Linked DNA regions of Homo sapiens: region 2 is linked to region 1. The links are contacts of gene promoters, found by promoter capture Hi-C in human tissues and cell types (Jung and others, 2019). All regions are on one chromosome and are shown on one strand. The core of a region is centred on a gene start or on the middle of the fragment in contact, and the rest is flanking DNA. Distances in the headings are between cores, read along the strand shown.

Region 1 (5,594 bases), core at 2,219-4,718:
CAGCCTGACCAACACAGCGAAACCCTGTCTCTACTAAAAATACAAAAATTAGCTGGGCGTGGTGGTGCGGCCTGTGATCCCAGCTACTCAGGAGGCTGAGGCAGGAGAATCGCTTGAGCCCTGGAGGCGGAGGTTGCAGTGAGCCAAGATCGCACCACTGCACTCCAGCCTGGGAGACAGAGCAAGACTTCGTCTCAAAAAAAAAAAAAAAAAAAAAAAAATTAGATTGTGGTAATGGTTACACAACTCTGGATATTCGAAAGTATCCAAATGTCCAACAAGAGGAAAAGGTTAACTACATTATGGCATATCCACTTGATTGGATATTAAGAAGACATTGTAATGATAATTATGATGATAATGAAGAAATCTATGTAAGTGGTTACACTGTAACAGTAAGTGAGGGAAGCAGTTCAGAACTGTATGTACCTTATAAACATAACTAAAAACATACAGGATGAAGAAAAACTAGGAAGGCTTCCACCCAGCAAATATGAAAGTGTTTGAGATTAAAAGTAAATTAAAGGTGGAATTACAAGTAACATTTCCACTTTTTTGTAATGTTGACATACAGAGCCATGAAAAATACACACTGAAAACCTCCCAGTTCTCCTGTGGATGAACAATCTGCAGGTCAGTGACCAGGTCTGGCCTGGTGCTATCAATAGGTCAAATAATGTCAATATATTGAATTGGAAAAGAATCTGTCAGAGTGGTTTCTATTTTCGTTTTTTTCATTTTGTTTTATTTTTGTTTCCATGCTGGTATGGGAAGATTTTTAGAAATTGTTCCAGGGTCTCAGTAGTAACCCTTGCAGGCACCGCTGGCCCAGGATCTGGACAATTCTAGAGGCAGGAAGCACAGAGACGAAGAAGGGGACTCACTGCCTGACCGCAGAGAAACGAGCTGTGCCTTTTGACCAGGTGTGTTTCCACCACGTGTTGGGAGGAGTGTTCTCAGAACCATGACTCAGCCCAGCAGCCATAAACCAGTCTCCCACACTACCCCAGAGACTTCCTGGGGCACTTGCTTAAGGTGGCTATAAAAGTGCTTCCAACTTTCTCGCCTCCCACAGGGAGAGGGAGGTCAGCTCCCGGCATTGAAAAAGGCTGACTGTCCTTCCAGAAGGACCTGGAGCCCATCAGCAGAGGCTGCATTTCCCATCACAGGGTGCTCCTGAGCCTGCACCAGGGCTGTTGGACAAACATGTCCCGCATGATCCTAGGGTACAAAAGGTTAACCAACACAAAGGAGCCCAAGGAAATGAAATAAGTTTGCAGAATCAAAGGTTTCAGGGTTCCAAAGGCTCCCCCTTGGGGGTGGGAGAGACATGGTGCAACTTGTGCCTTTACTAAGCAGATAACAAAAGAAAGTGGATTCCTAGGCAGCGCCTCCTTAAGTAGCCAGTAGAGGGCTCTGAATCTAATCAACAAGTGATTGCTTTATAATGTTTTTAAATTTGCTACAACCTCTAACTCAACTCTCTAAATGAATAGAATTTAGTGGGAGTTTATCCCACCAAGTACCTGAGGGCTGTAAGGGGCCACACTTCCTCTCTCTCTTTCTTTGTTTTGTTTTGAGACGGAGTCTCATTCTGTTGCCCAGGCTGGAGTACAATGGCATGATCTCGGCTCACTGTAACCTCTGCTGCCCGGGTTCAAGGGATTCTCCTGCCTCAGCCTTCTGAGTAGTTGGGATTACAGGCGCACTCCACCACGCCCAGCTAATTTTTAAATTTTTAGTAGAGACGGGGTTTCACCATGTTGGCCAGGGTGGTCTCAACCTCCTGACCTCAGGTGATCCACCCACCTTGGCCTCCCAAAGTGCTGGGATTATAGGTATGAGCCACCATCCTTGGCCTTTTTTTTTCTTTTCTTTCCTTTTTTTTTCAGACAGGGTCTCACTCTGTCACCCAGGCTGGAGTGCAGTAGCGCAGTCTCCCGGGCTCAAGCCATCCTGCCACCGCAGCCTCCCGAGTAGTTGGGACTGTAGGCACACACCACCATGACCGGCTAATTTTTACATGTTTTGTAGAGATGGGGTTGCTCCATGTTGCCCAGGCTGGTCTCAAACTCCTGACCTCAAGTTTGAGATGAGATCTGCTCATCTCAGCCTCCCAGTGTATGCAGATTACAGCCGTGAGCCACGGTGCCTGGCCTCCTTATTCATTTTGTAAAGCAGGAGGGAGTCATGGCACAGCAGAAAGCATTGAAGGAAGAGTCAGCCAACTTGGATTTAATCCTCATTCCATCCTAAATACTTGGTGACCTTGGCTAAGTCCTCCTGCTAGGAGGACTTCTGTCATCTGCACTTTGAGAGATGCTTTTTGCCCAGGGCCGTGACAGCCAGCCGGTGTGGCCAGAGTAGCAGACTGGGCTCATTTTAGCTGCCTGGAAAGAACCCTGGTTCCCTCCTGTTGACCCTTGGCAACCTTTAACCAGCCCACTTTGGAATGAATTTTGTAGACAAGTTCCCTGAGCAAAGTGACAAAATAATGCACACCATGAATAGTGTACCATTGGCAAATAGCAGGTGCCAATAATAGATATTTCAATTACTGTCTATTGCAACTCACACCTTCTTGCTGCCCACATTTATATGCTTTCAAATACATGAACAAACAGATCTGCCCCAACAGTTCTTTTTTTTTAGATGAAGTCTCACTCTTGTCCCCTAGGCTGGAGTGCAATGGCGCGATCTCGGCTCACTGCAACCTCCACCACCTGGGTTCAAGCGATTCTCCTGCCTCAGCCTCCCGAGTAGATGGGATTACAGGTGCCCGCCACCACACCCAGCTAATTTTTGTATTTTTAGTTGAGACGGGGTTTCACCATGTTGGCCAGGCTGGTCTCGAACTCCTGACCTCAGGTAATCCGCCCACCTCGGCCTCCTAAAGTGCTAGGATTACAGGCGTGAGCCACTGCGCCCAGCCTTCTGCTCCAACAGTTCTTAAAACTTCTTTGAAAATGATTCTCCTCGCCTTTGTGGCCTTTCCGAGCAAACATCCCTTACAGCAAACACAATCCTCTTCAAGCTTTCCAAACACCCTCCTCACCCGCTTCCGCATCCAATACCTGCCAGGAAGTTCCGAGTGAAGTGTAAGGTTCAGGACAGTAATGCAATGCCCAGGAGTGTGGGAGAATTACTCCCTCTTCCCTCAGTGAGTCTTTTACTGGTCATATGCTCCCAGTATCTTTTCTAATAAGCTCTCTTCACTCCCTTCTGATTTTTTTTTTAAGGGAATCAGTTTTGTCCGTGAAGAAGGAGCTGGGCATCTCTCAGCTTCGTGGGTCCTCCTTACCTTCTTGATCTGGTCCTCCTTCAGCTTGCTGAAGTAAAATGCCATCAAGTGGACCGCAAACATTTTCCCCAAGTTTGGTTTCTCCTGAGATGGGCAGAGATTCCTGTGCAGTGTTCACTCCTACGACTCTGGAGTGTTGCACGCTTCCAGTCCAGGCTGGCAGACCTCCTGGGGAGCGAGGTGTTGCGGACTAAATACCTCCAGCCTGCTTGGTTCAATGATTAAACTCCCCCCCACCCCACCCCTTTGGTCCCTCCCTCTGGCACACACTTGATTGTCTAATAGGAGGCTCTGGATGGTAGCTGAGGTTTAGTGGAGGGGGAAGCAGGGTATTGATGGGTTGCTTGACTACTTGAGAATTGGGTGCCACCAAATCTCATTGCTAAGCAACCCTCTCAAGCCGGGGCTCTGCCAAGCCCACTCAGCCGAGGAAAATCTTCTGCGAAGTTGGGCACTAAACAAAGCCAACTTTCAACCGGTGGAGCTGCTCTGCAAATTTCCAGTCCCAGGCTTTTCTCTTTAGTTTTTTATGCCAGTGGCATAACTCTGTGACCCCCTGCTCCTCAGAAGCACTGAACTAACTAAAACTAAACATTGTCCTGGTCAATGGGATTTCAAGAATGTTGGGGCAGATTCTTCCATTTGTGACAGATCAGATCTCTTAACTAATAGCCCATGGTTAACAGAAAATGATCAATAAATGTTTACCTATTCACAGTGTTAAGCCAGAAAATCTTTAGTTCACAGGTAGTGACCCAGGAAAAAATATTCCTGAGAAAGAGTGAACTGAAGTCACCAGTGCTCACTGGGAATCACTGCTGGAGAGAAGGAAGTCACAGATAAGAAATGTCTCAGTCCAGCCGGGTGCAGTGACTCACGCCTGTAACAATCGCAGCACTTGGGGAGGCCGAGGCAGGCAGATCATGAGGTCAGGAGTTCGAGACCAGCCTGGCCAACATGGTGAAACCCCATCTCTACTAAAAATACAAAAAACTTAGCCAGGAGTGGTGGCAGGTGCCTGTAATCCCAGCTACTTGGGAGGCTGAGGCAGGAGAATCACTTGAACCTGGGAGGCAGAGGTTGCAGTGAGCCGAGATCGCGCCATTGCACTCCAGCCTGGGTGACAAGAGCAAAACTCCATCTCAAAAAAAGAAAAAAAAGAGAAATGTCTCAGGCCACTGAGATGTTTTATTCACTCACTTCTCACTCATCATACTTGACATGAGAAGGACCCAGAAAGCACCCAATACATGGGTACAATCAACCTTGCACTCTTCCCACAGTCACTGGCTGGCTAATGAAACCAATAACAACAGCGTTAACAACAGCGGCTAACATGGATGGAGCATTTACCAATCCCATTTTGTTTTTATTACTCTTGTTATTATTATTTTTTAGACAGGGTCTCATTCATCCCCCAGGCTGGAATGCAGTCGTGGAATCATGACTCGCTGCAACATCAGCCTTCTGGGCTCAGGTGATCCTCCCATCTCAATCCCCAGGGTAGCTGGGGCTACAGGCACGTGGCACCATGCCCAGCTAATTTTTGTATTTTTGTAGAGATAGGGTTTTGCCATGTTGCCCTGGCTGGTCTTGAATTCCTGGGCTCAAGCGATTTACCCACCTCAGCCTCCCAAAGTGTTGGAATTACAGGCATGAGCCACTGCTCCCGGCCCACTCTTATTTTATAGATGAAAAAATTGAGGCCCAGAAAGGTTACGTGATCACAAAGCCATAAACAGGACAGCAAGGGGTCAATCCTGGAAGTTTGATTCCAGGGCCCAGCTATAATACATGGCATTGGCTCTCCAGCCCTGCTTTCTCCACGCAATAGATACTCAATAGATACGCAATTGATAACTATTAGTAGCAGCATTCTGTTGGGATGTTAAGAATTTGTTTTTCTTTTTCTTTTTTTTGAGACAGAGTCTCACTCTGTTGCCCAGGCTGGAGTACAGTGGCTCAATCTCAACTCACTGCAACCTCCACCTCCTGGGTTAAAGCAATTCTCCTGCCTCAGCCTCCTGAGTAGCTGGAATTCAGTGCTCTCTACCCATTGCCGTGTGGACGAGCCATCAGGTCTCACTTAAGCCCACAATGCAGAGGAGGCTCGGTTAAAATTACTCCAGATGCTTTATTCAGATTGATATAAGCATATTAAAACTGTCTCCCAGATTGAGGATCCCCATCCTTTTCAGTCAATTTACCCTCAGACTATGACTTTTAGCTTGCTCCTTTATTACACAAGCAAACAAAGATGAACCTTTAGTTCCCCAAACCATTCAGTGCCCCA
Region 2 (5,594 bases), core at 2,854-5,353, 130 kb before region 1:
ACAGGCATGAGCCACTGCGCCCAGCCTGTTCCTATCTTCGTTCTCAAGTTCCTTGAGGGAAAGACCACAACTTGGGATTCTCTGTCCTTGGCACCCAGGACAGCTCAGCAAATGCTCATTAGCTGCCTGGTCACAGGGACTGGTGGTCCATTCATTCATTCAAGGCACCTGATATGGTTAGGCTTTGTGTCCCCACCCAAATCTCATCTTGAGTTGTAACCCCCACAATGCCCACATATCAAGAAAGAGACCAGGTGGAGGTAACTGAATCATGGAGGTGGTTCCCCCCATGCTGTTCTCGTGATAGTGAGTGGGTTCTCATGAGACCTTATGGTTTTATAAGGAGCTCTTCCCCCTTCGCTCAGCACTTCTCCTTCCTGCCGCTTTGTGAGGAAGATGCCTTTTCTCCTTCCACCATGATTGTAAGTTTCCTGAGGCCTCCCCAGCCATGCTGAACTGTGAGTCAACTAAACTTCTTTCCTTTATAAATTACCCAGTCTTAGGCAGTTCTTTTTAACAGTATGAAAACGGACTAATACAGCACCCCTGCTTGCTGTTTATTAAGCACAAAGCAGTTACGCCATCATGTGAGACACACACAGAGGAAAAACCAGAGTATGTTTTTCCTTTTCTCTACTCACCACAACACAGAACACACCTGTGACCCTGGATGCATGTGGGTTTTTCCCCACACACCAAGCAAGTAATTCTGCAGTGAATTCTCCAGTGAACACCAGCTCCATGCTCTCTAATTCAATTCAATTATTTCACTAGCTACCTGGAGATAGCATCATATCCCACAGGTCGAGGGCTCGTTCACACGAGGCTGCCCTCCCTCCAACTTCAGACACCAGTCACAAGCACAGGTTGTGGCCTGTGCTTCTGGCTGATCACTATAAATCGGGGTTCCTACAACCCCCTCCTTGGGTTGCATTAGTTTGCTACGGCAGCTCACAGACCCAGAAAAAACACTTCACTTACATTTACATATTTACTATAAAGGATATTACAATAAATACAGATGAAGAACTGGATGGAAGAGATACACAGGGAGGGGCATGGGAGAAAGGGCAGGAGTTTCCATGCCCCCTCCAGATGTGCCACCCAGGAACCTCCATGTGTTCAGCTAGACAGAAGCTACCAGAACTCAGTCATTCTAGGTTTTCTTCTTTTTGCTTTTTTTTTTTTTTTTTGGTTTTGTTTGTTTGTTCTTTGAGTCAGGGTCACACTCTGTCACCCAGGCTGGAGTGCAGTGCAGTTGCATGATCACAGCTTACTGCAGCCTCAACCTCCAGAGCCCAAGCGATCCTCCCACCTCAACCTCCCGAGTAGCTGGAACTACCGGCACGTGCCACCACATCTGGCTAACTTTTTTTTGTATTTTGTGTAGTGACAGGGTTTTACCATGTTGCCCAAGCTAGTCTCAAACTCTTAGGCTCAAGCGATCCACCCACCTGGGCCTCCCAAAATGCTGGGATTACAGGCGTGAGCCATCATACCTGGCCTGTTTTAGGTTTTTGTGGAAGCACCATTACACAGTTGCGATTGATTAAATCATCGACCATTGGTTTATTCGCTCTATTTTCAGGCTCTCTCCCTCCCTGGAGGCGGCATGGGGGTTGGGGCTGACAGCAACCCTCTGATCACATGGTTGGTTCCCCCTGGCAACCAGCCCCCCATCCTGAGGCTATCCAGGGTCCCACCAAGGAACAAAAGAGACTCTCCTATCACCCAAGAAATTCCAAGGGATTTAGGAGCTCTGAGTCAGGACCAGGATCAAAGATTCTCCTAGCACCTGTATTGCTCAAGAAATTACAAGGGTTTTAGAAGCTAAATGCTAGAGACTAGGGGCAGAGACCAACATGTATATTTCTTATTATTTCACATATTGGTTGGTTGTTTTTTTAATAACAGTTTTATTGAGATATAATAATATAGCATACAATTTTTACCCATTTTAAAGTGAAAAATTCAGTGGTTTTCAGCATATTTACAGAGTTGTGCAACCATCACCACTATCTAATTTTAGAAAATTTTCATCATCCCAAAAGAAATTCCATACCCATTAACAACCATTCACCATTTCCTCCCAACCTCCCTATCTCCCAGCAACCACTAATGTACTTTCTGCTCTACAGATGCCCCTATTCCAGACATTTCATATAAGTGGAATTGTATAATATTAGGTCCTTTGTGTCTGGCTTCTTTCACCCGGCATAAGGTTTTCAAGGCTCATCCATGCTGTAGCGTGGATCAGTACCTCATTCCTTTTTATGAACCGATTATATTCCATTATATGTATATATCACATGAAGCCACTGGTTTTAAATTATTTGTGGTCCAAAGGAAAGAGAGAGAACAAGGGAGAATGCTGGGAAGCAGGTGTCATAGATTTGGTGGAAATTCTGACCCCGACTTTGTGGCATTGTTCAAATCAATATAGAATTTTCTTTGGGCTCCCATTGGAGTCCTAACTCCAACAGTACTTTACACCACCACTAGGTTAAAAAATTGAATTCAGCCGGGCGCAGTGGCTCATGCTTGTAATCCCAGAACTTTGGGAGGCTGAGGCGGGTGGATCACTTGAGGTCAGGAGTTCGAGACCAGCCTGGCCAACATGGAGAAACCCTGTCTCTACTAAAAATACAAAAATTAGCTGGGTGTAGTGGTAGGTGCCTGTAATCCCAGCTACTCAGGAGGCTGAGGCAGGAGAATCGCTTGAACCCAGGAGGCGGAGGTTGTAGTGAGCCGAGATCATGCCACTGCACTCCAGCCTGGGCAACAGAGCAAGACTCTGTCTCAAAAAAAAAAAAAAATTGAAATAACTGAAAAAATTGAATTCAGTATGAAGTAGCTCCTCGCAGGTGAGTCACTAGAATATCAGAAACATTTTATTTGACCATCCATCAGCTAACATTCACTGAGTCTTTCTGTACCAATCACTAAGTGCTTATACGTATCCTTTTATTTTCAATCTTCACAACCCTATGAAGTCAGTACTGTCAGGATGCCCATTCTACAGATGAGCAAGTAAAGGTAAAGAGGGGTTAGATAACTTGCCCAAACGCACAACCAGTAAGTGGCAGAGTCAGCATTTGAATCCGAAGCCATAATGTATAACCATGAAAACTGCCTCCTGGACAGAACTCAGGGACAAGGATCCCCAAGGAAAGTGGGGGCCAGAGAGAGACTTCAGCACATCAGGAATGGCTACACTTCTTTTCTGGGGCTCTTCAACTTCCATGATTCCTTATAGCTTTGGGTTTTTTTGTTTTGTTTTTTTTGTTTTTGTTTTTGTTTTTGAGACGGAGTCTCACTCTTGTTGCCCAGGCTGGACGGCAATGGCGCGATCTCGGCTCACTGCAACCTCCGCCTCCGGGGTTCAAGCGATTCTCTTGCCTCAGCCTCCCCAGTAGCTGGGATTACAGCCACCCACCACCACGCCCAGCTCATTTTTTGTATTTTTAGTAGAGACGAGGTTTCACCACCTTGGCCAGGTTGGTCTCAAACTCCTGACCTCAGATGATCCGACTGCCCTGGCCTCCCAAAGTGCTGGGATTATAGGCGTGAGCCACCGTGCCTGGCCTAGCTTTGGTTTTATTTATTTATTTATTTATTTATTTATTTATTTAATTTTGAGACGGAGTCTCGCTCTGTCGCCCAGGCTGGAGTGCAGTGGCGTGATCTTGGCTCACTGCAAGCTCCACCTCCCAGGTTCACATCATTCTCCTGCCTCAGCCTCCCAAGTAGCTGGGACTACAGGAGCCCGCCACCACGCCCAGCTAATTTTTTTTTTTTTTTTTTTAGTAGAGACGGGGTTTCACTGTGTTAGCCAGGATGGTCTCGATCTCCTGACCTCGTGATCCGCCTGCCTTGGCCTCCCAAAGTGCTGGGATTACAGGCGTGAGCCACGGCGCCCGGCCAGCTTTGGTTTTATTTTGCTTCATTCTCTAATGAAGACAGTGAAAGCTCAGTCTGATAAACAACTATAAACCACTTGTGCATAGGGGGAAAAGGGGCACAAAAGCAAATACTACACTGAGATGAAATGATCGGTACTTTTTATTTTAATATTTTACTTAATTAATTTGCTGTTTTAATGTTCACCTAAACATTTATTTATTTCATGTTTTTGTTTGTTTGTTTTTTTGAGATGGAGTCTCACACTGTTGCCCGGGCTGGAGTGCAATGGCGCAATCTTGGTTCACTGCAACCTCCAACTCCCGGGTTCAAGCAATTCTCCTGCCTCAGCCTCCCGAGTAGCTGGGTCTACAGGCATGCACCACCACGCCCAACTAATTTTTGTATTTTTTAGTAGAGACGGAGTTTCACCATTTTGGCCAGGATGGTCTCGATCTCTTGACCTTGTGATCCGCCCACCTCGGCCTCCCAAAGTGCTGGTCCTATACGCTGCCGGGCAAAAGACACTGAGGAATGATGTCTGTTAAGGACAACAAGATAACTGATAAACTTTCCTGGATGTCCAGCATCTCTTTAGATAACTACCCTCCCATTTTTCACCTATGAGGTTGGAAGTGGGGCTGAATCCCCACTCCAGCTCCAGGGGTACCAATGCGTAATCCAGGCATGGGATCCAGGGGCATCCCAAGTCACCCATCTTGTCCATCGTGATTGGTTCAGGATGGGCACATAACCCAAGTAAGCCAATCACAGCCCTCTCCAAGACCATCACAGGTCCATGGGGAGCAAGGCCTGCTCTTTGCACAGAGATCGCTGGCTATAAGGGGAGGGGTCAGCCTAGGGCTGCAGGGGCCGTCCCTGCCACTGTAAGAGGAGAGATGGCCTATGAATGAAGCCAACACACAGGAAAGGAGCTGACTGAACTAGTAAGAGACAGATGAATCCCTAGATACAGAAGTCAACTCACAGCGAGACTTCCCAGTTATAGGAAACTAGAATTCTCTTTTTTTCTTAAACAAATTTGAGTCAGATTTCCTTCAGCTACAACCAGAAGGTTTCCAGGTTAGTTCAATATTCTTTGTCAGGAAATGAATCCCCCAAATACCCACTTGCCCTCCATAACAAAAGGGACCTATCAGTCCCTTTTACCTCGGGTTGGCTCCCTGATTCAGAGCTGTCGTGTCCAGTCACCCCCTTGCAGAGGTACTGGAGCTGTAGCCTGTGGTCTCACCCACATTTTATGTGGCTAGCTCAGGGGTTGGGGGTGAGACAGCCTGCCTTGGCTTGCCCCTTTTCTCTGCCTCCTTCCCCTGTAACATCACAGAGATGCCAGCGAATCCTGAAAAACTCTGCATCCTTCCTGCAGGGGCTCGGCTTACACATTCAGGCCTGCTGGGTGCGGTCCTTGGACTGGCTCCATTGGTTAGGAAAGACTTTCCCAAGGAATTCTTCCAAAGCCAGTTATTATATCATAAGACTGATGAGGATGACGATGACGCACCATAACTCACGGTGGTTTGCAGTTTCCAAAGACTCTCATTTGATCCTGATGATAGCCTGGTGAGGCAGGTGGGGCAGGGATTACCATGGCCATTTTACCCATGAGGAAATGGAGGCTCAGAAGTTAAGTGGCTTCTCCAAGGTCACACAGGTTGGGAGTGGCAAACCCAGAG

What was found. Contacts are between HindIII fragments. The study calls those that stand out against the background at their distance.
Region 2: a contact is called between a fragment that was not itself captured here and the fragment with the promoter of HKDC1 in region 1, in 4 of the 25 tissues and cell types used here (heart right ventricle, mesendoderm cells, stomach and 1 more).

The regions. Positions count from the first base shown.
Region 1 is chr10:69,218,206-69,223,799 of GRCh38, reverse strand. It overlaps HKDC1 (hexokinase domain containing 1), which reads right to left and starts at 3,468. Exons shown (of 18, transcript NM_025130.4): 1 at 3,302-3,468. The coding sequence starts at 3,364. LOC101928994 (a long non-coding RNA gene) reads left to right here. Exons shown (of 5, transcript NR_120648.1): 3 at 575-633; 4 at 775-923. RefSeq lists an enhancer at 5,442-5,594. The HindIII fragment of the contact is 7,476 bases long and covers 344-5,594 here.
Region 2 is chr10:69,349,218-69,354,811 of GRCh38, reverse strand. The region is part of intron 2 of HK1 (hexokinase 1); the gene reads right to left. Among named protein-coding and RNA genes, the nearest start is that of HK1, 33 kb to the right of the region's middle. The HindIII fragment of the contact is 8,896 bases long and covers 1-5,594 here.